Regions from separate parts of the Homo sapiens genome. Here regions 1, 2 and 4 are each linked to region 3. Evidence: promoter capture Hi-C in human tissues and cell types (Jung and others, 2019). All regions are on one chromosome and are shown on one strand. The core of a region is centred on a gene start or on the middle of the fragment in contact, and the rest is flanking DNA. Distances in the headings are between cores, read along the strand shown. Region 1 overlaps ZNF710 (zinc finger protein 710). Region 2 holds the start of ZNF710 (zinc finger protein 710). Region 3 holds the start of UNC45A (unc-45 myosin chaperone A). Region 4 holds the start of CIB1 (calcium and integrin binding 1).

Region 1 (6,566 bases), core at 3,619-6,118, 920 kb after region 3:
GGTTTTGCCATGCTGCCTAGGCTGGTCTCGAACTTCTGAGCTCAATGATCCACCTGCCTTGGCCTCCCAAAGTGCTGGGATTACAGGTGTGAGCCACCATGCCTGGTCAAGCATTGTTTTGTTTTATTTTGCTTTTAATAGAGTTGGGGTCTCACTCTGTCACCCAGGCTGGTGTGCAGTGGTGTGATCATGGTTCACTGCAGCCGTGAACTCTTGGGCTCAAGAGATCTTCCTGCCTCAGCCACCTGAGTCACAGGGATTACAGGCATGAGCCACCATGCCTGGTTCACCTGCAAGTGTGTTTATGTTCAATTTGATGCCACCTACAGGCACCAACTTCCTACCTGCTGCTCCATGCAGTGGGCTGAACCTCCAACTCAGAATGTAGCCAAGAACTTGCAGCTATCACTCTTTGGAAGAGTGCTACCCAAAGAAGGGCTGGCTTCCAGTTTGTCAGCCAGCAGAAGAACTTGTGCAAGGAGAATGGAAATGAGCTGGTGTTTTAGCTCTGATTTTTATCTAGAAGCCACCAGGCTGTCCAGTGGCTCACCTACCTCTGTAGCTCCTGCTTTACTTTTCTGGTAGGTCTTAGGAGCTGGGTGGCAGAGTGGTTCAATGGATGGAGTGTGAGCTTTGGACTCATCGCATCTGGGTTCAAATCCCACTACCACTCCTTATAGGTGCGAGGCCTTGGGAAAGCAGCCACCTTCATAAGCCTCAGTTTCCCTGTCCGTAAAATGGGGAGAGGAATGCTATTTCTCAGTGGGTCACTGAATTCAAAGAATCTAGATCAGTGTCCGGCCTATAGCAGCTACTTGACAGACATTAATTCTCCTTCTCTTCCCCTTGCCAGGACTGGGGAAAACCCTACCTGAAGATGTCATGTACTCCCGCAACATTTCAAAAGAGCTTTCTACATTCTCAAATGGATTCAGTAACTATAAATATGTATTAAGAACATGCCCCAGTGGAAAAATTTTACTTGGGGTTACTTCTCAGTGAGTTTTAAGAAACACAATCAAGCCCATTAATGTACTTTTGTAAATTATATGTAAACAGCTGGTGCAAAGCAGAAATTCTAGGCGAAATGAAAAGGAATTCAAGTAAAAGTGCCATATGTATTCCTCTGAGGGGTTTCTCGTCTCTCAGGTCAACATTTCCAAAGGGATTTCCCCATAGGGATTTAACAACACAAGCCCCAAGTCTCCCGGCTTATGCCAGAGTGATCCGCCATAGTGTTTCTTTGCTCAGAACCCACTAGTGGCCTCCCAGGCCTCAGGATGAAGCCCGAGCCTTTTGACACATTCTCAGTTGGTCCCTACCTATACCTGCAGCCTCATCTTCTACCATCTCACCCACAATCCCCCTCGGACTCCTCAAGTGTGTCCCTTGCTGCCTTTGCATGTTTGAGTCCCCCATGCCTCCTTTTTGTTTTGTTTTGTTTTTTTGAGACAGAGTCTCACTCTGTCCCCCAGGCTGGAGTGCAGTGGCGCAATCTCGGCTCACTGCAACCTCTGCCTCCCAGGTTCAAGCGATTCTCCTGCCTCAGCCTCCTGAGTAGCTGGGATTACAGGCATGCACCACCACACCCGGCTAATTTTTGTATTTTTAGTAGAGATGGGGTTTCACTATATTGGTCAGGCTGGTCTTGAACTCCTGACCTCGTGATTCGCTCGCCTCGGCCACCCAAAGTTCTGGGATTACAGGCGTGAGCCACTGTACCCAGCCTTGTTTTGTTTTTTGAGACAGAGTCTCGCTCTGTAACCCAGCCTGAAGTACAGTGGCTGGATCTCAGCTCACTGCAACCTCTGCCTCCCTGGTTCAAGCGATTCTCCTGCCTCAGCCTCCCAAGTAGCTGGGACTTACAGGCATGCGCCACCATGCCCGGCTAATTTTTGTATTTTTAGTAGAGACGGGTTTTGCTATGTTCACCTGGTCTTGAACTTCTGACCTCAGGTGATCCGCCTGCCTCAGCCTCCCAAAGTGCTGGGATTACAGGTGTGAGCCACCACGCCTGGTCCCCCATGCCGCCTTTGTCTGCTAGGACTCAGCTAGACACCACCTCCACCAAGCAGTCTTCCCTACAGCCCCCTGCCCCCAGCACATTCGAAGAGCTAACTTCCTGTGCTTTTGTGTCTATATCCAATATCTAGTACCCCTTCTGGACTGGGGGCTCACTGGGGAGAGAGACCATGCCATTCACCTTAATATGACAGAGTTTAACACATGGTAGGTAGTTGGTAAATGTTTGCTGATTGAATGAAGGAAGTAAGAGAGAACAAAGGGCGATTTTTCAGAGAACAGAGGATTCAGGATGGTGCAGGCCTGTCTCCTGACTTCATAGCACCGCGGTCCGCAGGTAATAGTGATAGCCATGGGTTATATACAAACACACAGTGTAGCTATGAAAAGTAGGCTCATGAACCCATTTTACAGGCTGTGAAACCAAGGCTTGGGGAGGCTGTGGGTCATCAGGGCTAGGAGATGGTGAGCCGAGGCTGAAAGCTGTAGGTCCTCTAATCCTGAGTCCTGTGACTTAAGGATGAGGTCCTCCCCTTGCCTCTGAGCCGCTTCAGCGGGGCTCTTTCAGGTCTGCACCTGCCTGTGGGGAAAAGAGCAGCTCTGTGTTTCTGTGTCTAATGCAGTTTCCATCCAACAAAGGACGCAGTTGAGAGAGCTCCCCAAGGCTAAGGCGGGTCCAGGTCAGAAGTCTGAACACACACTGGAGAAACGTTTGACTCCATAGCAAGGAACCCAGGGCTGAAACCCTCACCCTTGGAGCTGACGTCCCCCAGGCTGCTAAGGGGGGGGGGGTGCCACACCCTCTCTCACAGGACTCCAAAGTTGCCCACTACTCATGCCCTTGGTGGGTCCAACACTATCACAAATGGACCCCTGCTTTCCCCAAATCTTAATTGATTAAAGAAGCAAAGTGACAAGTTTCATCTGAATCTAAGGTTGCAGAATGAGATCTGTAACACTGTCACAAGTTGCGGGGAGGCGGGTGGGGGACCCGCCATTCAGGGAGGAGAGGGAGGACCGGGCAGATAAGAGATCTCATCCCCAGACAGATAACGGGGCTAAAATGACAAAGGAGCTGGGAGCCATTGCTGGCACTTTGAGAAAAAGGAAGAGCATATTAAAATTTAAACAAAGCCCACCCCAGGGGAAACATGCAGCCTCCTTCTCCCAAACTGCGCCTCTCATTTCCAACACACATGAGGCGTCAGGTTCACAGAAACCGAAACGTCCCTCATCTCAAGGGGCTGGGGTTTGTGTTTTTGTTTTTTGTAACCCATCCCGGCAGCAGCTGGCATGCTGTGTCTCCCCGGGGGCGGGGAGGCAGTTCGGGCCTCCACCAGCCCCCATGGCCTTCTTGGCAGAACTGAGAAGAAAGGGTGGGCTGGGCTTGGGCCTCAGCTGGGACAGCCCTGCCTGGACGGAAGGGTGCAGGGGCGTTGGTAGCAGAGCTGGAGGAGGGAAGGGGCTGTGAGGTGCCTGGATGTGCCCAGTCCTGAAGGTGGGCACCAGTCTAGGTCCCGGCAGGAGAGAAAAGGGAAGAAAGAAGCTCAGCCCACAGGAAGGGCCCCAGAGGCCCCATGAAGAATGCGCTGTCACGCAGGAGGAAGACAGCGGAAAAGGAGGAAGAGCCGGTCAGCAGTGGGAACAGGAAGGTCCGATTTAGACCACGTAAATGCTACTTCCTCAGTAATTCCATCAAACTTCCCTCTGTTCCCCACACCAAGTGATGACGAAGAACTGGGCTTCAAGGGGCTGAAAGTCTGGGCAGAGGCACTTCCTTGGCCTGGACTCCTGGGCTAGAGTCTGAGGCCTCCACAGGAAATCCTCGGCTCCCCCACTCACCGCCCCCCAATAAGCACCAACCTAGTCTCTGGATTAGGGCAGGATGTTTGTTTAGGAGCATTCTCTTGGAAGAAAGACCAGCCTAAGTTCTCTGACAGACTCTGGAATCCTCAAAGCCAGCTCTCTGTCCCGGGCACCCTAACGGCTGGCACCAGAGAAGGTTACCCTGGGGAGCCACAGGCCTGCAGCTTCCTGGGGTCATGGGAGGCAAGACAGGGTCTCTGGGCCCAGCCCTCGCACTCCCATTGTAAAGCGACGGGCCAGGATGACAGACTCCCTTTCCTAGGTCAGCTGTGCCCGGAGTCTCTCAGGCCCTTCCTTGCCATTTACTCTCAGCCAACCTGTATGACCCGTGAGAAACATTAGGAAACAGAGGTCTGAAAGACTCACAACCATGTTTAAAAGAATGGGAGTTAGTATTTGGCTAAACAGAATCCAAATATGATACAATGTGTCTGGGGGCAATTTACCCATCTAGACGAACAGCCTTTAGAATGTGTCCTTGGCCCAGTGATTCTCTTCTGGAGATGTATCCCAAGGAAATAACCAAGTCTGTGGGCAAATATACCCAAGGATGTTTACCACAGCATTCTTTACAAGACAGAAACAGAGGAAACAAGCTAAATGTAGGAGATTGGTTAAATAAATGATAGTCCATCTGTTCAAAAGAACTATACAACCCTTTAAAGTGACTTGACGGAGGCTGCTTAACCTGATGGAAATTTTAATCACATGTTGTAAAGTAAAAGCAAAAAAAAAAAAAAAAAAAAAAGAAAGAAAAAGTAATAAGATGGTACAAACAGTATGATCTCATCTTTTGAAATTGAAAAATATTCTGGGGGGGCTATACAATATACTAAAATATTAATAATTATAGGTGGTTTTTATCTTTTTTGCCTACTTATAGTCCCTAAATTTTCTGCAATAATCATCAACCTCTTTGTAGCAAGAAAAAAAAATCAATAAAAGCTATTTTCTAAAAAACAAAAGGAAGAGATACAAGATCCAAGAGACTGTTCATTCCTTGGGCATTCAAATCTAAGATGGATTAAAAAACAAACAAACAAACAAAAAACCACTAGACAGAGACATCTTAAATCCACCTAAGAATATTTAAGAATATTTTCAAGGTGGTTTCCAGGACAGGGAAATTAGAATCCTCCAGAAGGCCCTACTGAGCACAGGAAGACTGAGAGCCACCAGCAGGGAGACACATCCTCCAGCAACGTCCATGAAGACCCAGGGCCCAGCTTTCCTGTGTGGGCCCTTCCAGTCACTGTAGCTGAGTGGGGAGGTGAGGGGCAGGCAGGGGCCAAGGTGCAAAAAGGCAAAGCAGACATGACCTCTGTCCTGGTTTACGGAAAGGGCAATGGCCGTTTCTTTAGACAGTGAATTCAAAGAGGAGGCGAAAAAAGGCCAGTTCTTAATCTGAGATTTGTTAATCTAGGTGGCGACAAGAAATGAATTTTTACAACCACGGTAGGAAAACCCCAGCTGGGCGCGGTGGCTCACGCCTGTAATCTCAGCACTTTGGGAGGCCACGGTAGGCGGATCACCTGAAGTCAGGAGTTCAAGACCAGCCTGCCAACATGGTGAAACCCCGGCTCTACTAAAAATACAAAAAGTAGCTGGGTGTGGTGGCACACGCCTGTGATCCCAGCTATTCAGGAAGCTGAGGCAGGTGAACTGCTTGAATCCGGGAGGCGGAGGTTGCAGTGAGTCGAGATCACGCCACTGTCCTCCAGTCTGGGTGACAGAGCAAGACTCCATTTCAAAAAAAAAAAAAAAAGAAAAAAGAAAAGAAAAGCCCCAAAACAGGGATTTGGAAGAGAAATTCTAACAAGCTCTGTAATTGAAGCAAAAGAACACAGCTGATGTTACACAGAAGTTTTTCTGGGGGAGACAGAACACAAGAAGATGATGGAGCAGAATGCTGGGTAGGACGTCCAGAGCGCTCACAGCACACTGTGAGTGAGAAGCTAGCCTTTGCTAAGAGAGATGCCCTGGAGCCCAAGGAAGGAGATTCCATAGGGCATGGCCTTAATTATTCAAGCACCAGGAAAACCTGAGGAGCAGTGGGGAGGTGTCTCAATGTTGCCGGTCCCTTTATGATCAAAAGCCAAAAGCTTTAAAGTCTATTTCAGATATCAAAATGCATCCATTTGGGAACCGTTTCCTGGGTGCTTCCCATCCATTCTCGAATTCTGCAAACAACTGGGCACTGATGAGTATAAACTTTCCAGGGGAACAGCACCATGCTGTTCAAGACACTCCCACCTTCACCAAGTAACCAAACAAAAGTGGACAGGATGGGTCATTAGGATGCATCCCTTGCAAGATGCCAAGCAGTATAGTGACAGGATGTTGGACATGCCAGCTCAGGCCCACAGATCCCGAAAACTTCCTACCCCCGAGAGCATTCCTCAGCCCAAAAGGACCCTGCTTCTTTCTTAAAGAATGATGACTCCAAGTTAGAAAATAAATATGGCACCACACACAAGGACAGCCGGAGCTGGATGATTTTGTATCTCTTAAAGACATCAAATTCTTCCCCTGGTGAAGCTATAGCCTGTAAATTACAGCCTTGTATTATATATGGCCAACACTTTCAGCTTTGTTCTCCATACAGCATTTCTCATCAGCAAGGAGGAAGCAGTCAATACCCTACTTTGAAAAACAGCACAGGTGGTTCTGGGAAACAA
Region 2 (6,693 bases), core at 1,723-4,222, 930 kb after region 3:
ACAACTCTGCTAGAAATATCTCTGGGCCACAAGGCAAACCTAAAATAGAAGTGCAAAATCTCTGGTGGTCCCATTAGTCTCCCTTCCTCCAACTCAAAAACCATTCCAGACCTTGTCTGTCTCCTTGTCTCTAGACAGTGAGCCTAAAATAAGTCTCCCTGGTAGGAAATGCCTGGTTGGAATGGAAATGACCCAAGCCCTGGAAAAATGGCCCGCTGACCACACACCGTGGGCTGAGGACTCACCCAGGTATCAGCTCTGAGAAGACAAGCAAGTGAGCCCGCGTCCCACTTCAACTCACTGCAGCCCCCTCCACCAAGACACAGGCAACCAGGCCAGGCTGGAGGAAGAAAATGTGACCCAAACATCCAATTCCCCCTACCCAAAAGAAAGCAGCTCTATCCCCACGGCCCTCATGCAGGAAAGCCAGCTCCAGAAGGTCACTGGGGCACCAGGTGGGCACCTCTCTGGAGCTACAGATGACCGATCAGAGGTTCTGCTCCGAGACTGGCAGGTACCCAGCACAGTTACCCTGGCCTGAGGGTCAGCTAATAAAACCAATGAGAAAGTATAGAAAATAACATTCTCTTTAAAACAAATGAGAAAGGAATGGCCACTCTAGGTTTTCAGAAGTCAAAACCAGATAGCCCCATCGGCTTTGATCACATTAGGAATACACTGTCTCTTATCTAACGAGTTAAGAACGGTTTTCTTCTTCCCTTCTCCCACGTGGCCCCATTGGTTCTCTAGGCCCCCTGGTGAAGATGCAATAGGGACACAGACCCCCAGCCCTCTACTTGGCAGAAATGAACTTTGACTGGTTTTACTTACACGTGTACAAATGCAGGACTGAGAGGGCAGCTTCAAAGCTGGCTGAGTGACCCCCAAGAGCACAAAGTCCTTCTCCGCACACCTGTGGGGGAGTTTTGTGAATTTCCCAGATGCCCACAGGGACTAGTTATGTACACTGCAGGTCGATACCGGCCGGGAGTTTCCATTTTGCACAGCAAGAAAGGTGCTCAGGGTGCCCTTTGCAGGTGGGCACTCGGCCTGCAGCTCAAGGGTGGGCCATGACGTTGGTCCCTCACTGGATTGCCCGGCAGGCCTCCCTCAGACCCAGTAGGACGAGTACCTCGAAGAGTCCTTGTGATCCCAGCACTTTGGGAGGCCGGGGCGGGCGGATCACGAGGTCAGGAGTTTGAGACCAGCCTGGCCAATATGGTGAAACCCCGTCTCTCCTAAAAATAATTAAAAATTAAACGGGCGTGGTGGCGTGCGCCTGTAGTCCCAGCTATTGGGGAGGTTGAGGCAGGAGAATCGCTTGAACCCGGGAGACGGAGGCTGCAGTGAGCCGAGATCGCGCCACTGCACTCCAGCCTGGGCGACAGAGCAAGACTCCATATCAAGAAAAAAGAAAAGGCACCCCGGATACTGCTACGCCTTGCCCTAACCGTCTCGCAAATCCTAGAGATACATGAATGACCCTTTCAGGTTGGTTAAAATCCACACAAGCACCTCCCTGGCCTCTTAAATCTTTCCAAACTACAGCTTAGACTGGAGGGAAGCAGTTGCAGCGCCCATAAAAGTCATCTTAAAAGGCAAGTTGGAAAAAAACCCGATACGCACTAGTTAGCAAGTCCGCGGTGAAGGGGGCGGTGGCCCAAGGGCCGGATCTGCGGGATCTGTGCGCCTAGGGTGGGGAGGCTGGGGCTGCCCCGTCGGTCCCCGAGCCCGCGCGCCCACCTGGTAGCCTGAGGGCCCCGATCTGACGCTGGTGCTCACGCCCCACAGCTCCATCCAATTAGGAAAATGACCGCGAGAAGACGGAGAGAGGGCGACGAGGAGGAAGGGGGGCTGAGCCGCGGGAGGCTCAAGACGGGCCGTAGGGACCCCGCCCGCCACCCCCACCCCCACGCCCCCAGACAGCGAGCGCCGGTCCTGGGTCCCCGGCCCGCGGCGCCCCGACGCTGTCCCGGCGGAGATCCCGCGGCGCCCAGCGTGCGGCGGCCAGTGGCCCTCGGGGACGCCCCCAGCCCCGCCAGCGGCGCGCTCAGCTCTCCCCCACCCCCGGCCGGCTGGGACGCGCAACAACCCCACCCGCTCCGAGAATAAAGTTTGTGGGCAGCCGTAGGGGCGGGGCGGCGAGGGGGTGAAACTTTGAGTCCCGGGCCGGGTGTGGGGGGAGCGCACCCAGCACCGGGACACCCACGTGCGGGCCCGAGAGCCTCCGCCACCGTCGCCTCCCGGGCCTCCCGCGCCGCCGCCGCCGCCGCCGCGACGCTTTCCTTTCATTTTTGCCTCTCTCTCTCTCTCTCTCTCTCTCTCTCTCATTCGCGCGCTCTCCTCCCTCTCGCCCTCTTTCGCTCGCTCCCTCCCTCTCCCTTCCCCCTCCCCCTCCTCTCCCTCCCCCCCACCCCAGACGCCATCTCTCCCTCTTTCCCCGGCTCTCCCTCTCTCCCTCCAGCTCTCCGGCATGAGGGAATGTGGAAGTGAAAGGAAAAGACGACATGTTTGCAGCGCGGCGCGGGCCTGCGCGCGGCCGTCCCCAGGGAGAGGCGGGGGGCGGGTCGGCCGCGGCCGCAGCGACCCACCCCCGCGCCCCCCGCGCCCCCGCCGGCCGGCAGCGCGGGGCTGCGGGGCTGGGGCTGGGGCTGGGGCGGGGGGCCGCGCGGGACACTCACCCTGGGTCCGGGCGCGGCTCCTGCGCTGGGGCCCTCGGCGGGCCGGGCCGGGCCGGGCCGGGGGCTCCTGGCTGCCCACCGCCCGGGCTGCTGCTGTGCGCCCGCCGCCCGCCTCCACGCGCGCCCGCCGCCTGCTCCTGCCGCCCTCCCTCCGGCTCCTCTCTTTCTCTCTCTCCCCCCTCCTCTCGCTCGCTCTCTCGCTCGCGCTCTCTCCCTCCCTGGAAGAAGGGAATGAGGCAGGGCTGACGTGAAGGGATGCAAAACAGCTCCTCCTAAGCCAGCTCGCAGAGGAAGAGAGAGACAGAAAAGCAGCCCTTTTATCTCTCTTTTGTTTTCTCACTTCCTTCCACCCCCAACACCTCCCTCTTGTCAGCCCAAGTTTTCTTTTCTCTTTCTACCGCAGAGGATTTTTCTTCCTTTCTTTCTCTTTCTTTCGGTTCAACTCTCCCACTCGAATTGAAAGCCTGAAGGGTTTTCTTTCTCCTGTTTTTTTCTTCCCTCTTTTCTTCCTTCTTCCTCCTTTCTTATTTCTCTAAAAGGGTTTTGTTTGCTGTGGGAGTTTCGTTTGAAAATCAAGTCACGCCTTTTTTCCTTCTTTTCTTTCTTTCTCTCTCTCTCTTTTTTTTTTCTCCTCTCAGCAGAAAAGGGGAACAAAGATTAACTGAAGCGGGGAAGAGGCAGACCTCGCTTGGAAATGGGGGGCCCGGCCCTGTCCGGTACAAAGGGGGCCCGGGGGCCCTGCGCCCCGCCCCCCCCAAGGGAAGCCAGGGGCGTCCTCTGGAGAGGAGAGCCGGTGCGGGTGTTGGGGCACGGGTGCGGCTCCTGGGTGCCGGTTCCTTCCCAAGTGCGAGCGAGGGCCGCCGAGCCCGCCCCTCCCCAGCCAGAGGTGGCAAGCTGGGTGTGTGTGCTTCACTTATGTATTTTTAAAGTAGGCAGATGGGCCTGGAACAAACATCCCCGCAGAGCACTGAACAGCAAAAGCCTTTAAACAGCTGTTAGCAGAGCCCTGGACGGCCTGACTCGAGGGAGCGGCGCGGGCTCCGAGCGCCAGGGCCCGGGTGGAGAAGGGGCTCAGGGCAGCTGCTGGGATCGGCGGGCTGGCGGGGTCCCCGAGCCCAGGGCCTGGGCCTCGGCCCCGGGGCGCACTGCTGGGGGGCGCCGAGGCGTGGTCGCTGGCAGCGCGGCCGTCAGGTCCCTCTCGGCTCCCTGAGGGGCCGCGGGGTTTGGCACAGCCTCGCCGCCCTCCAGCTCCGGCGCAGGCCGGACACCAGGCCTCCAACCTCCAGAACACCCGCCACTCCGAGCCGTTTCTCGACTGCAACGCAGGGCGGGTCCGGAGCCCTCGGACAGAGCCGGGCAGTGCCGCCAGGAAGGGTCAATTATTCATGGGGCGCCCGGGCGTGCTCCCAAGACCTGCTCTGTCCTCGGGTTCTCCGGAGGAGTGGGGAGAAGACGGGGGAAAGTTCCCAAAGCAAAGTTGGTCACATTTGTCATTTTCCCAAGTAAGTATTGAGCACCTGCTGGATGCCGGGCCCTCGGACTGGGGCTGCAGCCAGGGGGAGAAACGTGAGGTCTCGGTGGGCCCCGAGAGCAAACTCAGGGAACAATGCAAGGGAAGCTGCGGCTCAGGACCAGGTCACCGGGAGGAAGGAAAGCCTGGATCCTCTCCCCTCCCTCTTCCCTTCCTTCCCTTCCCTTCCTTCCTCCCGGCTGCATCTCCTTGGCTCCACCCCTTCTCCTCATCAATTCCTCCCACACTTCCCTGCTCTCCCTGGCTTTTCACTGAAGGGTCCCTTCTCCCAGGGAGGAGCAGATGCTGAGCCCCATTGTCTCTCCCCCAGTGACTGCAGCCTCCCGGGGACACGACCTGCCACTCCTCACCCCTCCCCCCAGCCCTGAGCCCTGGGCCTTTAGAAACGAGAGCCCCAAGGCCACGGCCCCTCGCCCCACCCTAAACCAGCTCCTGGTGCTCTGAGCTATGACTCCAGTCACTCAGAACACATTTGTCTCTGACGAGGAGTGAGGAAACAGTAGCCTGAGAGTTTGGTTCAACAAGAAGGACACCATGGTCTTTTAACATCAGCACCCTGAGCCCCCAATGACCCCAGGGCCTTTGCCCAGGTCTGCAGGAAACCACATTTCCGTCATCACTTGCAGCCTCCCACTTAGTACACCCAAGCTGCATCCTCCAAAAAAGCAGAATGCAGCTCTTAGAGCCAAGCATGCACTTAACAAATGCCTACTGAGTACCTACCCCGTGCCGGCGAAGGTGCTGGCTGCTGAGGACCGAATCATCAGCAAGACGCAGTCCTTGCTTTGGCCTTTGGCTTTGCAGGCGAAGGAGCAAGAAAAGAAGACAGCAACCTCAGTGCCATGCGATACAGGCAAGAGTGAACCAAGAAAGCTCCTAAGAGGGTGCTTGGACTAAGGTGGTCAGGTGTGGCTTCCTGGAGGAGGTCGTGTCTAGATTAGGCTGTGCTAGCCAAATGCATGGGAGAGAACAGTCTGTCCAAAGGCCCCAGGGCAAGACGGCACATTATTACAGGTTCTTAGAACTGTCAAGAGTTGAAGTGTTTACTGCAGCTTAGAATACAAGTGGGTGGGGGGAGAGTGAGGATAGAGCACAAGTGGGAAAAAGGGGAGGGTGTCAGGGAAATATTCAGATTTTAGCCCCTCCCACTTGCTAACTTCATGAATGTAAATGAATAACATAACTTCAGTGAATAACTTCGACTTAATTTCGGGACATATAAAATGCAGGTAAGAAGACCTGTGGATTGCAGAGACAGTGTCTTAGTTTAAGGGCCCAGGCTTACCTGCTGCATATTCCTGGGCAAGTCAACCTCTCTAACTTTTCTGTAAAATAGGGATAAAAATACCTGCTTCACAGTTTGTTGTGAGGCTCAAACCCCACACCTAGCATGGTGTCCGGTACATAAGCACCAATCCCCGGTAGCTTTTATTTACTATTACTACAAATCAGGGAGTGACTGGGTAGTGCCCCGATGACCTGGAAATAAGATTACGTTCAGGGTTGAAACCAGAGTGACTCACCACACCAGAAACATGATGAGCTGACTGAGGGGGAAGCATTCCTTCAAAGATGACCAGTGTCCCACTGGGAGGCTGGGATTGGTGAACACCACATCCGATCAAGATGGCCAGGTGGCTTCTCAGGAACATGACCAGAGCTTGATGACTGGTTATCAAGGCCCAGCCTGATCAGCAGAGTTGTAGCCTGCCTGAGGAACAAATAGGAATCAGGAGAGGATGGGCCTCATGAAATCCAGGAAGGCCCCTGGGAGCAGGCACCTGGCTATGTTTGCTCAGGAGAGAGACGTAATCACAGAAGTTTGCACTGGAGGAGCAGGGGAGGGATAGGGGGTGATTATTGACTTCTCCACAACGTGATTTAAAGCTCCCAAAACCTCTTAGTCCTTTGGTTGGATTATTGGTTCTCCAAGTGACCTGCACATGAACTTGGCACCAGCCAAATGCCCTCAAGGATCCAGGCAGATACCACAGCTCCAGTTCCTGCTTTGTAAACATTTTACACTTCTATTATTTCTTTCGTGAGTGGGAGTCTCGCTCTGTCACCCATGCTGGAGTGCAGTGGCACGATCTTGGCTCACTGCAACCTCCGCCTCCTGGGTTCAAGCGATTCTCTTGCCTCAGCCTCTCGAGTAGCTGGGATTACAGGTATGTGCCACCACACCCAGCTAATTTTTTTTTTATTTTTAGTAGAGACAGGGTTTTGCCCTGTTGACCAGGCTGGTCTCAAACTCCTGACCTCAGGGGATCTGCCTGCCTCGGCCTCCCAAAGTGCTAGGATTACAGGCATGAGCCACTGCGCCCAGCCCTCTGTTATTTCTTTACAACACAAGTTCATTGTGAAAGAATTCGAAAACGAACCCTATCTAGAGACATATTTCGGTGTATATCCTTGGACATTTTATATCCTAGTGGCTACATGTAAGTGCACACCATAATAAAACTGTACAAAGTCAATATC
Region 3 (7,025 bases), core at 3,912-6,411:
ACCAGCGTACGCAGAGCCGCCAGCATGAGGTCAGTCTCTCCCATGTCCAGTAAACGTTGCAAGAGCTGAACCCCATTACTCCGGAAGATCTTCTCCGCTCCAGCATCCTCCCTGGCCAGCACCACCAGGTTCTGAGAAGCCTGCGTCAAAGGAAGCACATTATAATGTTGACACTGCACACGGCATAGGATGCAGCACTGGTGAGCAGGGGCCCCGAGCCCTGGACCTCTCTGCTTCCACTTCACAGTTGAGTGACCACGGCCAAAAAATAACCTCTTTGAAGTTTAGCTTCCTCTGTAAATAGAGGGAAGAGCCTTCTCTCGGGATTGATGGTTAGAGCAAATGAGTCCCCAGCAGAGCCTGAGGGGCTGGGACAGTGCCTCAGTTACCTCTGTACACCCAGTTCCTGGCACAGGGCGTGGCCAACAAGGTACTCTGTGAACACTGGTTCTCTTTCCTTGGTTCACGCTAAAGCCCCAGACCCTCAGAGCTCCCATCCAGGCCCCGTGAGCCCAGCTGCACGATTGGAGGAGCGGCAGAGCAAGGCAGCAGTGGCTTCGGGGGCCTATGGATGGGTGGCTCTAGTGGGAGCTCACTCACTGACTCAGCCCAGGGCCTATACCTTTTGCTTTTTCTCAGTGCCCTTCTCTTCTGGGTCCAACAGTATCTGAAACATCTGTTCCACTTTGGCATCCGTCGAGGACATGTATCGCACCTAGACAAACCAACAAAGCATGGAACAAATCACGGCTCTTGGCCAGAGACATCACACTCCCTATTCATTTGTCTCCAGCTCCTCACTCTGGGAGGCACAGTAAAGATGTCCAGGCTCAGGGCTAGCACCTAGCTACCCTGGGCAGGAAGAGACTTGCCTGGCAGTGCCTCCTAAATTTCCCGCACCTGTTTTTCTTTCTGAGCTATTTCCTGCTTGGGCAGCAGGGGCTGCGCCGATGCTGGAGTGCCTTTTCGGAGGGGAGGTATCCTGTCAGCTACGAGGCAACCCACTCCCAGTGGTGCCATCTACATTGTGGCAGCGTGAATGGGCTTCCCATGGCACTGAACTCAGCATTTATACCTCCTGCCAGGGAGCTGGCAGATCGTGAGGTAGTTGCTAACACTTCCTTTAGCTCCAGAATTCTCTTTTCACTGTTTTAAAAATAATCTGAGCTGGGCGCAGTGGCTCCCGCCTGTAATCCCAAAACTTTAGGAGGCCAAGGCAGGTGGATCACCTGAGGTCAGGAGTTCAAGACTAGCCTGGCCAACAAGGTGAAACCCCATCTCTACTAAAAATACAAAAAATTAGCCGGGCGTGGTGGCAGATGCCGGTAATCCCAGCTACTCGGGAGGCTGAGGCAGGAGAATCACTTGAACCCAAGATGCGGAAGTTGCAGTGAGCCGAGATCACGCCACTGCACTCTAACCTGGGCAATAACTGTGAAACTCTGTCTCAAAAAAATAAATAAATAAAATCTGAAGCCAGGCACGGTGGCTCACGCCTGTAATCCCAACACTTTGGGAGGCCGAGGTGGGCAGATCACCTGAGGTCAGGAGTTTGAGACCAGCCTGGCCAACATGGTGAAACCCCGTCTCTACTAAAAATATAAAAATTAGCCAGGTGTGGTGGCGGGTGCCTGTAATCCCAGCTACTCGGGAGGCTGAAGCAGGAGAATCGCTTGAATCTGGGAGGTGGAGGTTGCAGTCAGCAGAGATCCACTGCACTCCAGCCTGGGTGACAGGATAAGACTGTCTCAAAACAAACAAATAAATAAATAAATAAATAATCTGAATGGGGAAGATCATCCTAGGCCTACTCCCCCACCCCCCAGAGTCCTGGGCATAGATGGTGGCACAAGCCTAGCATGTGGACCACCCGCCTTCCTCTCTTGCATCCATGGCAGCCATGACTAACCAGTCATGGCACGTTCCCCTGCTTGGCTCAGGCAATCTGCTTCCTAATTCTTCTCAACATAGGACTCTGGGCAGCCACTGCCAATCAGAGTTGGCATTGAGAGAGGAAACCTATTTGCTTTCCCAGGCTTCAACATTTCAGTGAGGTGTCTGCCATCATGTTATCTGCTTCCACTGTGTCAGCATTTTAACGTCAAATTATCTGGCGAATTTGAGCTTGGTTGTAGCTCATAATGGTCTTTAGATTCTTTTCTCCTAATTTAAAAATATACGTATTTTACACAATTTCTCTTTATTAAAAAAATATGAACAGGTGATGCAGTCTCCTTTGGAAAGCCCTCTCAATCCCATTCCTTTCCCCAGGGGTCACCGTGTTATCATTTTGATGTATATCTTTTAAAATATTTTCCTGAAAAAATAAAGAAACAAAAATGCATATTTGGCCCAGTGCCATGGCTCACGCCTGTTATCCCAGCCAGTTGGGAGGCTGAGGTGAGTAGATCCCTTGAGCCTAGGAGTTCAAGACCAGCCACCTGGGCAACACAGTAAAACCCTGTCTCTACAAAAAATATAAAAATTAGGCGAGCGTGGTGACATGCATTTGTCCCAGCTACTTGGGAGGCTGAAGTGGGAGGACTGCTTGAGCCCGGGAGGAAGAGGTTGTACTCCAGCATGGGTGACAGAGTGAGACCCCGTCTCAAAATACATAAATAAATAAAAATAAAAATAAATTTAAAAAATAAAATATTTTCGGCTGGGTGCAGTGGCTCACACATGTAATCCCAGCACTTTGGGAGGCCGAGGCAGGCAGATCACAAGGTCAGGAGCTCCAGACCATCCTGGCCAACACAGTGAAACCGCATCTCTACTAAAAATACAAAAAATTAGCCGGGCGTGGTGGCAGGCCCCTGTAGTCCCAGCTACCTGGGGGACTGAGGCAGGAGACTCACTTGAACCTGGGAGGCAGAGGTTGCAGTGAGCCAAGTTCGCACCACTGCACTCCAGTGTGGGCGACAGAGCAAGACTCCGTCTCAAAAAAAAAAAAAACAATTATTTTCCTTTGTATTTACATACCCAAGTGTACCCACAGAAAAAATATAGCATTGTTTTGCTATGTAGGGGATCATTAACATAAATGATATTATACTATATGTGTTATTGTATATTTTTCTTCTTCTTTTCTTTTTTGAAAGAGACAGGGCCTCACTCTGTCAGCCAGGCTGGAGTGCAGTGGCACGATCATAGCTCACTGTAACTGCAAAATCCAGGGCTCAAAGGACTCTCCTGCCTCAGCCTCACAGGTAGCTGGGACTACAAGGGTGTGCCACCACACCCAGCTAACTTTTTAGGTTTTGGTAGCAACAGGGTCTCACTATGTTGCCCAGGCTGGTCTCAAACTCCTGGCCTCCAGTGATCATCCCATCTTGGCCTCCAAAAGCACTGGGATTACAGGCATGAACCACCATGCCCTGCCTATTTTGCTTTGTTCATTCAACAAGTGTCCCAGAGCTTCCCATTTCAATATGTGTGTATCTACCTATTCTCAGTAACTATATAAGAGTCTGTAGTAAGGACATTACCCATTTATTCAGCCATTCCTCTATGGCTGGGCATTCAGGCAAGTTCCAAGTTTTTCTTACTACAAAAAAGGCTGAAATAAACATACACATGTCTACTTGTGCACGTGGACAAGGTTTCTCTGAGAGAAACAGCAAGAAGTAAACATATGGGATCACAAGATACGCTCATTTGAAATTGAATAGATATGCTAAAGTACTCTCGAAAAGAGCTGTACCAATTTATACCCCTCCAGCAGTCATCAGAGAGCCCTTGGCCCCCAGCCTCACCACTGATGTGTCTGCCTCTCTCCTTCTCGAAAAGTGTACAAACTTTTAAATATCTGCCAGACAGACCTCCAAATCAACAGTAATGTGCTGTCATCTTAATTTGCTTTTCCCTGGCCACAGGCAAGGTTCACTTGCCACCGGGATCTCGTCTGGAGAACTGTGTCTACACCCCTGGCCCAGACCCCTTCACCACCAGTCAATGCTTCCACCTCTCTGGGTCACTCACATACCTTCTCCTGAATCTGGCCCCCGATGTTCCGCAAGGCCTCCTGGAAAACTTTGTTCTTGGGCTCCAAGCTCACACATCTCTGCAGGTCAAGGACAGCCTGGTCCAGGCGGCCCAGCTTCTCTAGGGCTTGGCTCCGCCGGTAGAGTGCTTTGACATCCCCACCATCCTTTTCAATGGCTGAGCACAAACAGGAGCGCTGTCAGCACCCATGAGGCCACTGTCTCCAGGCAAGAGCAGTAGGGAAAGATCTCGAGGAAAGGCCAGAAGAAGGTGGGGGGGACGAATGTGGGGCTCGGTGCTTCAGCCTCAGAAAAGGTGAGGGTAGCTGCAGAAAAGGAAAGGCCCGAGGCAGTGGGAAAGAAAGAAGGCAGATGTGTCTCTGGGGCCAAAGGAGGAGAATGTGACGGTGCAGCGGTCCCAGAGTCCTTGCCCACCACAGAAGCCCTACAGCTCCACACCAGGGCCCACCATTCCCCTACCTTTGGATGCCTCTGTTTCTGCTTTGTCGTAATCTTCCTGTAAGAGAAAGACAGGAGCCTGAAGGAATGGTCATCTCCCTCTCGGGGCACTAACCAGGCAGCAGGGGTACTCTCGCTCTCCAAGGTCACCCGATCCCCCACCACCCTGAGGTGCAAAAAACATCTGGCAAGCGGGGATGGCCTGGGAGCGTGAATGTCCAGCTGGGGCCCAAGCATCAGCTTAGATGGGCGAACCGGGGCCCGGGCGGGCGAGGGGAAGAGCGCCAGGCTCCCTCACCAGCTTGAGGTGGCAGGCGGCCCGGTTCCGGTGCAGAACGGCCTGGTCCTGGGGCGTCGCGTCCAGACCCAGGGCCTGAGTGTAGGCCGCCAGGGCGCCCCCGTAGTCTCCACATTTGAACAGCTCATTGCCCTCCTTCCGCAGCTGCTCCACTGAGCTGGCCTGTAGAGAGAAAGGGGGCGGAAACGTCGGAGGGGGTTCGGGGCAGAGCCCGGGAGCTAAGGGGAGAGGAGAGGAGGGATCGGGGCGAGCCTCATGGATGGGGAGAAGGAGGCCAGGGATGGTCAGGGCGGGTGCGAAGGGGTGATGGCGCGGGGGTTGGGTACGCACCCCGGGGGTGGCCGGCCGGGGCTCGGGGGTCCCTGGACCACTCACAGTCATCGCGGAGAGGTTGTCTCGTGCCCGCGCAGGCGCAGTCTCTGGGGCGGGGCGAGTCTGGGTTCGGGACGCCACCGGCAGCTGCCCCGCCCCACTCTTGCGTCGGAGGTGGGGTCAGAGAGGGGCAGGGCTAAGGAGGGAGCGCGCCCGGGCAGGGGCGGGGCGCTTGGCTCTGGATCGCAGGTGCAGGCAAGCTCCGGGCGCACCTAAGCTGTCCCCGCAGAGACCTGCAGGGAGCTCGCGGCGGAGGACCCAGAGGGAGGCCTGCGGTGGCTCCAGCCCAGACTCCGGCCCCGACCGCAGCAGAAGTGCACGAGGTCTACGGTCATCAGGGTCACAACCAGTAGGTTGTAGAGGCCCAGCACTAGGAGCGGGCCTGGGCCCCTGCGGGAGAGAAAAAGTATCTGGATCCCGGCCCCGACCGCGCTCTCGCTGCTGCGCTCTGTGGGGGGTACAGAATCCCTGGGAGTCCGGAGAAAGCTCAGGACTCCCTCCCCAAATAAGTGTCGTCTTACATACACACATTTGCATACGAATTTAGGAGCTCATCCTAGAGCCACCCATGGGCAGATTCAGGATGGCTCCCCATTACCAGCTTGCACAGCCCCCTGAACTTCTCCTTTGTAATTGTAATCATGATCTACATGATTTTCTGTTGCGGTCTGTCCCTTCACTAGTCTGTAAGTTACAAGCCTACCACCCCATAATTTAGGAACAGAGCCCCAGATACTGGAACACCCTGTCGATGTTCCAGTGGCTCTGGGGTTGGAGATCTCACCTGAGGATGGGCGGGGGCGGAAGAGCGGACAGATTGACTTGGTACAGGGCCTCAAATTCAGCCCGGGTGCAGCAGGAGCCCCCTGCAGCCTGCAGGTGGCAGCAGTAGGCTTCCTCTGGAGAATCAGACAGACGAGGGCAAAAGAAACCAGGGTAGTGACGGCCATGGACATCCCGGGTGGTCTGGCACAAGTGAGGGTGGTGGACCAGAGCTGAAGAGAGAGGTGGGGGTGCTAGAGACAAGCAGGAGGGGCCTTTCCACAGCTCACTCCACCCCTACTGGAGAGTAAAAGAGATCAGCCCCTACCAGAAGAAAAGATGCCCTTCCACCCATCCCCATCAGTTCCAGTTCCCAGGAATAGCCCATAGCACCAGAGGCAGGTGGGCCACAGGGGTAAGTGCTGTACCTGAGAGAGAGGTTGGCTGGACAAGGGTCACCCAGCTGAAGAGCAGCAGTAGCCCCACAGATAGGCCTGTCAGCAAGGGGCCTGACCTTCTCTGGATGCCCATGAGAGTTCACTACCACCTCTGTCCTGGTCCTGGGAACCCCAACATCTCTCTTTCTAGGCCGTGACTGCAGACAATAAGGAAATAAAAGTCAAAGCCCCAAGGCCCTTGGGCACCATTAATACGAGCCTGAAGCTTCTCTATCACAGGCTTTTAGAGAGAGATGACAGGGACTGGGTTTCTGTCTCCTGTTGGAAAACGTGGGGCCTGCATTGCCAAACTGCTGAAGGAGAGAAGGCTCAAAGGACTAGAGGACAGAATGAGGGATGAGAGAGCAGCTGAGCCATTAGTATGAAGAACAAACAAGCATTTACAGCCAAATATGTTTCTACCCATTCTCCAACTTCCAGGCTGCCATGGAAGCTCTGGGAATTCTGACCCTCCTATTTCAGGTCCCAGAGACCTCAGTTCCAGCATGTGGGGCTTCCCTCCCTAACCTCTGCTACGTGGCAACCACCAAGACTAGCTGAAAACCAAGGGTGACTCCTTTCATTAGCCTTTCCCCTGAGCCTTATCTGCCCCAGCTACCAGCCAGAACACAAAAGCTACATGTCTGATTAGAGTATACTTAGCTAATAGGGAACCCCCTCTCACAGAGAAGTTCTATGGGGATCACCAGGTCT
Region 4 (6,740 bases), core at 2,377-4,876, 700 kb after region 3:
TGTAATCCCTGGACCAGCACATTGGGAGGCTGACGCAGGTGAATCACGAGGTCAAGATACCGAGACCATCCTGGCCAACATGGTGAAACCCTGTGTCTACTAAAAATACAAAAATTAGCTGGGCGTGGTGGTGGGCACACACCTGTAGTCCCAGCTACTTGGGAGGCTGAGGCAGGAGAATCACTTGAACCTGGGAGGTGGAGGTTGTGGTGAACTGAGGTGGTGCCACTGCATTCCAGCCTGGTGACAGAGCAAGACTCCATCTCAAAAAAAAAAAAAAAAAGGGAAAAAAAGAAAATTACAATAAAGTCCGGGCACGGTGGCTCACGCCTGTAATCCCAGCACTCTGGGGGGCCAAGGTGGGTGGATCACGAGGTCAGGAGTTCGAGACCAGCCTGGCCAATATGGTGAAACCCTGTCTCTACTAAAAATACAAAAAAATTAGCCAGGTGTGGTAGTGGGCGTCTGTAATCTCAGCTACTCGGGAGGCTAAGGCAGGAGAATCGCTTGAATCTGGGAGGCAGAGGTTGCAGTGAGCTAAGATCGCACCACTGCACTCCAGCCTGGTGACAGAGTGAGACTCTGTCTCAAAAAAATAAATAAAATAAAAAATAAAAGTATATCAGCAGCTCGGTTTTATCACTGTACCAAGAGTTGATCAGGTACAGGAGGGACAATATGCTAACCAGATTCACCGAGGACTACCAAATGATTCAGACTGCCCATTTAATAATCTACCATGAGAGGCCGGGCGTGGTGGCTCAGCACTTTGGGAGGCTGAGGGAGGCGGATCAAGAGATCAGGAGATCGAGACCATCCTGGCCGACATGGTGAAACCCCGTCTCTACTAAAAAAAAATACAAAAATTAGCTGGGCGTGGTGGTGCACTCCTGTAATCCCAGCTACTCAGGAGGCTGAGGCATGAGAATCAGGTGAACCTGGGAGGCAGAGGTTGCAGTAAGCCAAGATCATACCACTGTACTCCAGCCTGGTGACAGAGTGAGACTCCATCTCACAAATAAAAATAATTTACAATGAGAAATATGCCAAATGGCACAAAAGGTTCTTGCTGGCTGGTCAGTGTACAAAATGAATCAGGAAGCAAAATGAAAACCAAAGGTTGTTCCATGAAGGGTTCAGAGCCAAGTGAAGTGACTGAGAGATCTAGATCACAGCTGGTCACCAGGCACAAAGCTGACTCTCATGTCTTCACTATAAAGAGATACTTATGGCTGGGTGCAGTGGCGCACGCCTGTAATCCTAGCACTTTGGGAGGCCAAGACAGGCGATCACCTGAGGTTGGGAGTTCGAGACAAGCCTGACCAACATGGAGAAACCCCGTCTCTACTAAAAATACAAAACTAGCTGGGTGTGGTGGCACATGCCTGTAATCCGAGCTATTCAGGAGGCTGAGGCAGGAGAACTGCTTGAACTCAGGAGGCGGAGGTTGCGGTGAGCTGAGATCATGCCATTGCACTCCAGCCTGGGCAACAGGAGTGAAACTCTGTCTCAAAAAAAAAGAAGACAGATACTTATTACCATGCAGTCCAGGTATTCGCCTTGGCTTGTAAGAGGCAAACAAGGTCTATTTAGTACAGGAGACATAATGACAGCTTCTTGCTTTTTGCCTAAGCTTTTACTAACAGAAGACTAACTCTTTCTCGGACAGAAAGAGCCTGCTATTAAGAGAAAAATGATCGGCCGGGCACGGTGGGTCACGCCTGTAATCCCAGCACTTTGAGAGGCCGAGGTGGGCGAATCACGAGGTCAGGAGATCCAGACCATCCTGGCTAACAGGGTGAAACCCCGTCTCTACCAAAAATACAAAAAAATTAGCCGGGTGTGGTGGCGGGTGCCTGTAGTCCCAGCTGCTGGGGAGGCTAAGGTAGAAGAATGGCGTGAACCCAGGAGGCGGAGCTTGCAGTGAGCCAAGATCATGCCACTGCACTCCAGCCTAGGCGACACAGCGAGACTCTGTCTCAAAAAAAAAGAGAAAAATGATCAGGTTGGGATGGGCCTATACCCTAGTTATTTTTTTTTATTTTTATTTTTTGAGACAGAGTCTCACTCTGTTGCCCAGGCTGGACTGCAGTGGCACAATCTCCGCTCACTGCAACCTCCAGCTCCCAGGTTTAACCATGTCTGGCTAATTTTTGTATTTTTAGTAGAGATGGGGTTTTGCCATGTTGGCCATGCTGGTCTTGAACTCCTGGCCTCAAATGATCCGCCTGCTTCAGCCTCCCAAAGTGCTGAGATTACAGGCATGAGCCACCGCGCCTGGCCTTGAATATTTCTACAATGATGGAATGTACCTGTTAATACAGTGTGTCTTATCAAACACATGCTGCCAAGGAGAGCACTGGGTATTCTTCCAGTGTAAAGTAGATTCCTAGGCAGTCTAGGGAGTCAGGAAAGGCTTCCCTGAGGATGAGATGGAAGAGGGACTGAGGGCCCAAAGTGGCTGAAAGACAGAGAGCCAATAGGAGGAAGTCCAGTTACAGAGGGCCAGGATTTGGGTTTTTAACCATTTAATGGTTATAAACTGAGACTAACATACTCAGATTTAGACTTTACAAAGATCAGCAAGTATAATGGATTGGAAGGATCAAGAATTAATCCCAGCCTGACCAACACAACCTCCACTTCCTCCTCCCAGCAGTTTGGAATCCTTACCTTTTGCAATAGTATACGTTCATTCATTTATTATGCATTCGATAATATTTACTGAGAGCCTACTATGTGCCAAACATTATCCTAGAGGTTAAGAGGGGACAAGAGCAAAGGGTCAGCAGTCTAGGGGTGAGATGGAGTCAAAAGGACGGCAGGTCAGCTGGAATGATGAGAACAGCAGTGGAGAGCCTTTAAAAGTGCCTTGGACTGGACCGATTACCTTCTAAATGCCGGCGCCCGGAAAAATCACTAACACCCTTTGGACTTACGTATTTCCATCTTTGTAAAATGGGAACCTACCTCGCAAGGGATGTTGCAACAATCGAAGAAAACTATGCACAATGCTTGACATCCAGTGGGTCCTCAGTAAATAGCCTAAGAAGGAAGCAAGGTTATGGTTACTTCTGGAAGAGGTGGCTTGGGGGCTGCGACAGGTGCAGCGATTGCCTGATGATAACATCTAGAAAAGCCCTTGCTGGGCAGAGGGGCAGCCGACGACCCCCGCCACTCAGCGAGTCTCCAGGTTTCCCGGAAACGCTAGCTCCAGTGACTTCTCAGATGCCCCTATGGGACCCCACCCAGGGCTGCCGCCGCCACCACCTACTGCAGCCGAAGCGGATGCACCTCGCGACTTTCCCCGCAGCCGCTGCCGGGGCCACAGCGAGGTCATGACGCCCGTGACGCATACGCAGCCAGCACGCACGCGCGCGGCGTGGCCCGCCCCCCCCTCCCACCCCGGAGGCGGGGCCGTGAGTCCCGGGCTCCGCCCCGGAGCGTCGGGCCCCTCCCCGGGCCCCGCCTCCAGCTCGCCTAGGACCGCTTGGAGCCGGCAGCTCGCCTGCCAAACCCGGCTGGGAACGCCTGGCAGCTTTTAGGAGGGGGCGGGCCCGGGGGTGGTGGCCCCAGGAGCGGTTGCCGCGGGGACCGGGCAGTGACGCGGCCCAAGGGCGGAAGTGAGAAAGTTGTCTGCGTCTCGAGGCGAGTTGGCGGAGCTGTGCGCGCGGCGGGGCGATGGGGGGCTCGGGCAGTCGCCTGTCCAAGGAGCTGCTGGCCGAGTACCAGGTGCGCGGGACGCCTGGCCCTGGGGAGCTCGCGTGCGGGCCTCTTCTCGGGAGCAGGGTCCGGGAGCTGGCTGCGGGGCGGCCGCGGCCTCCCAGCGGTCCGCTAATCCCCGCTCTGGCTTTGCCTTCCAGGACTTGACGTTCCTGACGAAGCAGGAGATCCTCCTGTAAGTGCTGCCTTGAACCCTGCCTCCGACCCCGGGATCCTCTAGAGACAGCTTCGGGGGCGCTGTCCCGAGGGAGGGGCGGGGGCTGGCCTGAGGTCTGCAGAGGAGCGGGAGCTGGAGGCCGGGAGACCTAGCCCGGGCTGCGCCCTCCTCCCGGCACGCCCTCCCCGCCCTCGCCTGAGGCCCCAGCGTGGCACCGCGGAGCCACCTTACAGCCTCCAGGAAAAGTTAGGCGCTCTTTGACCCTGGGCTCCACTAGCTTCAGCACTGCCGAACTTCCTGCCCCAGTCCGGCAGGGGCCGACCTTGCCCAGTGGCTAAACCACAGAAGCCTTGGGGAGCCCGGCTCCTTCTCCCAACTTTACCTGAATAATACAGTAACCGTTATCGCTTTCTGAGCACTCACCATGTGCCAGGGACTGTGCTAAATGGTTGCCTGCGTTACCTAATTTAATCTTTAGGAGAGAGGTACTGGACAATGAAACAGGTTCAGAAAGGTTTGGTAACTGCTTAAGACAACACTCTGAGTAAGTAGATTTGAACTTGGGCTGGAAGCCCTTTTGCCGGATTTATGCAGGCCAGGTTCCTGTGGCAAAGATAAGCTCATGGGAAGGAGGTGGAGGCCGAGGAGGACAGTTCAGTGTGGTTGCTAAAAAGGAGGCTTTGAGGGTAAGAGATCCCTGGAGTGAAGGTGAGAATGAGATTTTTGGTTTTGCTCTTTTCTCCGTTTTTTTTTTTTTGAGACAGCGTCTCGCTCTGTCGCCCAGGCTGGAGTGCTGGGGCACGATCTTGGCTCACTGCAGGCTCTGCCTCCGGGTTCAAGTGATTCTCCTGCCTCCGGGTTCAAGTGATTCTCCTGCCTCAGCCTCCTGAGTAGCTGGGATTATAGGCACCCGCCACCATGCCCGGCTAATTTTTGTATTTTTAGTAGAGAAGGGGTTCACCATGTTGCTCAGACTGGTCTCAGACGCCTGACCTCCAAAGCTCCGCCCGCCTTGGCCTCCCAAAGTGCTGGGATTACAGGTGTGAGCCACCGTGCCTGGCCAATTCTTTAGGGCCAACTTCTGGCTCCTTTCCCAACTTCTTCATCCCTTGGGGATCTCTAGAATCAGTGCCAAGCACATAGTAAATGCTCAGTAAATACTCATTGCAAGAATAGACTCCTAGGCTGTACTGCCTTGTGACATGTCCTTTTGCTTACCGTTGCCTGATGACTCGGAAGTTCTGTGTACGTGGTTTTAGCTCCTCACCTGGTTGACAATGAGCAGCAGGCAAGGAGTGGGAATGAACACACAGGGAGACCGATCGCTGAGAACACCGACAGTTCCCCTCTCTCTACCAGAGCCCACAGGCGGTTTTGTGAGCTGCTTCCCCAGGAGCAGCGGAGCGTGGAGTCGTCACTTCGGGCACAAGTGCCCTTCGAGCAGATTCTCAGCCTTCCAGAGCTCAAGGTGCAAGCGCTCCCCTCCTTTGACACCTCTCCCACCACTCCCTCCCTGCTAGACCCCCTAACTCCATCTGCCACTAGCTTTGGGATCATGGGGTCACTGGTCCCCACTCTGGTCATTTTTCTGCTTAGTTCTGATTTTCTAGGGGCAAGGACTTTACCAAAATCACCTGGCAGAATTATCTAGAATGGTGCTTTTCAAATGGGGATTCTAGAACATAATCTTGGAAGTTCAAAGAAGTTTTGTCCCTTAAGAGGAGTTGAGGTACCTCATTAGAGTTTGAGGAACCGTGTTCTAGAGGCTGATTGCCACTCCGTAAGGCTGCTGCAAAATTTCTGTGCAAAGGGCCTGGCCCGGTGCCTGTAACACAATAGCTGTTCAAGTAAATATTTGTGTTTTAAAATAACCAGCCCATCTCGTTCCCTTTGTTTAGGATGACTTCTTCTTCCCTCTCTGCCCACACTTACGTTGTATGTGACCTGCCTTTGGGTTAAACACTTGACTCCCAGGAAGCCATCTCAGTCCCTTCCCCAGCTGGGTCAGTTTGCTTTCCTGTGCCCCCACTGCCCTCCATGTTGGCCCCAAAGCACTGACTGTTCACCCCCACGAGGCTGAGCTCGCTGGTGCTGGTCCTGTGACCTGCTCTCTCAAGTTTCTGGTAGGCTTTAATGAGCGTGTGACCTGGGCCACGTCCTGTGGCGTTTGTTCTCCTAGGCCAACCCCTTCAAGGAGCGAATCTGCAGGGTCTTCTCCACATCCCCAGCCAAAGACAGCCTTAGCTTTGAGGACTTCCTGGATCTCCTCAGTGTGTTCAGTGACACAGCCACGCCAGACATCAAGTCCCATTATGCCTTCCGCATCTTTGGTGAGAACCAGGAGCAGCCCGGCAGGACACCACCCCTTCCCACGTGGGCTTTGTGGTGGCCCTGCTTGGGAAATGGGCGCCGTTTGGGGAACCTCAGAGCCCCTCCCAACCGTGTCTTTTGGCTTCCTGTGTCTGCTCTCTAGACTTTGATGATGACGGAACCTTGAACAGAGAAGACCTGAGCCGGCTGGTGAACTGCCTCACGGGAGAGGGCGAGGACACACGGCTTAGTGCGTCTGAGATGAAGCAGCTCATCGACAACGTGAGCAGCTGAGCAGGCCTGGGAGCGGGAGGGAGCAGTTGGGGCTCTGGCCTGAAACTCTCCCTTTCCCAGATCCTGGAGGAGTCTGACATTGACAGGGATGGAACCATCAACCTCTCTGAGTTCCAGCACGTCATCTCCCGTTCTCCAGACTTTGCCAGGTATGACAGTGGTCCCCCTTCATTCTGGGTACCTGCAGGTTCCGACCTGCTGCCTCTGGGCCTAGGGCATGGCTACAGGAGGTGGTGCCAGGGTGAGAGAAAGCCCC

What was found. Contacts are between HindIII fragments. The study calls those that stand out against the background at their distance.
Region 1: a contact is called between a fragment that was not itself captured here and the fragment with the promoter of UNC45A in region 3, in 1 of the 25 tissues and cell types used here (spleen).
Region 2: the fragment with the promoter of ZNF710 here is called in contact with the fragment with the promoter of UNC45A in region 3 in 1 of the 25 tissues and cell types used here (spleen).
Region 4: a contact is called between the fragment with the promoter of CIB1 here and the fragment with the promoter of UNC45A in region 3, in 1 of the 25 tissues and cell types used here (liver).

Annotation. Positions count from the first base shown.
Region 1 is chr15:90,017,258-90,023,823 of GRCh38, reverse strand. All of the region lies in intron 1 of ZNF710 (zinc finger protein 710), which reads right to left. Among named protein-coding and RNA genes, the nearest start is that of MIR3174, 14 kb to the right of the region's middle. The HindIII fragment of the contact is 6,651 bases long and covers 1,543-6,566 here.
Region 2 is chr15:89,997,603-90,004,295 of GRCh38, reverse strand. ZNF710 (zinc finger protein 710) reads right to left here and starts at 2,972. Exons shown (of 5, transcript NM_198526.4): 1 at 2,682-2,972. RefSeq lists enhancers at 623-1,390, 1,391-2,159 and silencers at 1,859-2,358, 2,774-2,942, 3,351-3,520. The HindIII fragment of the contact is 12,330 bases long and covers 1-6,693 here.
Region 3 is chr15:90,933,421-90,940,445 of GRCh38, reverse strand. UNC45A (unc-45 myosin chaperone A) reads right to left here and starts at 5,161. Exons shown (of 20, transcript NM_018671.5): 1 at 5,071-5,161; 2 at 4,741-4,902; 3 at 4,464-4,500; 4 at 3,986-4,161; 5 at 623-715; 6 at 1-140. The coding sequence starts at 5,121. RefSeq lists a silencer at 4,946-5,345 and an enhancer at 5,976-6,075. The HindIII fragment of the contact is 5,793 bases long and covers 2,752-7,025 here.
Region 4 is chr15:90,230,827-90,237,566 of GRCh38, reverse strand. CIB1 (calcium and integrin binding 1) reads left to right here and starts at 3,626. Exons shown (of 7, transcript NM_006384.4): 1 at 3,626-3,732; 2 at 3,864-3,898; 3 at 5,240-5,348; 4 at 6,060-6,210; 5 at 6,354-6,472; 6 at 6,545-6,633. The coding sequence starts at 3,682. It overlaps GDPGP1 (GDP-D-glucose phosphorylase 1), which reads right to left and starts at 3,358. Exons shown (of 4, transcript NM_001013657.3): 1 at 3,275-3,358; 2 at 2,971-3,045. RefSeq lists silencers at 3,224-3,663, 3,684-4,133. The HindIII fragment of the contact is 18,702 bases long and covers 219-6,740 here.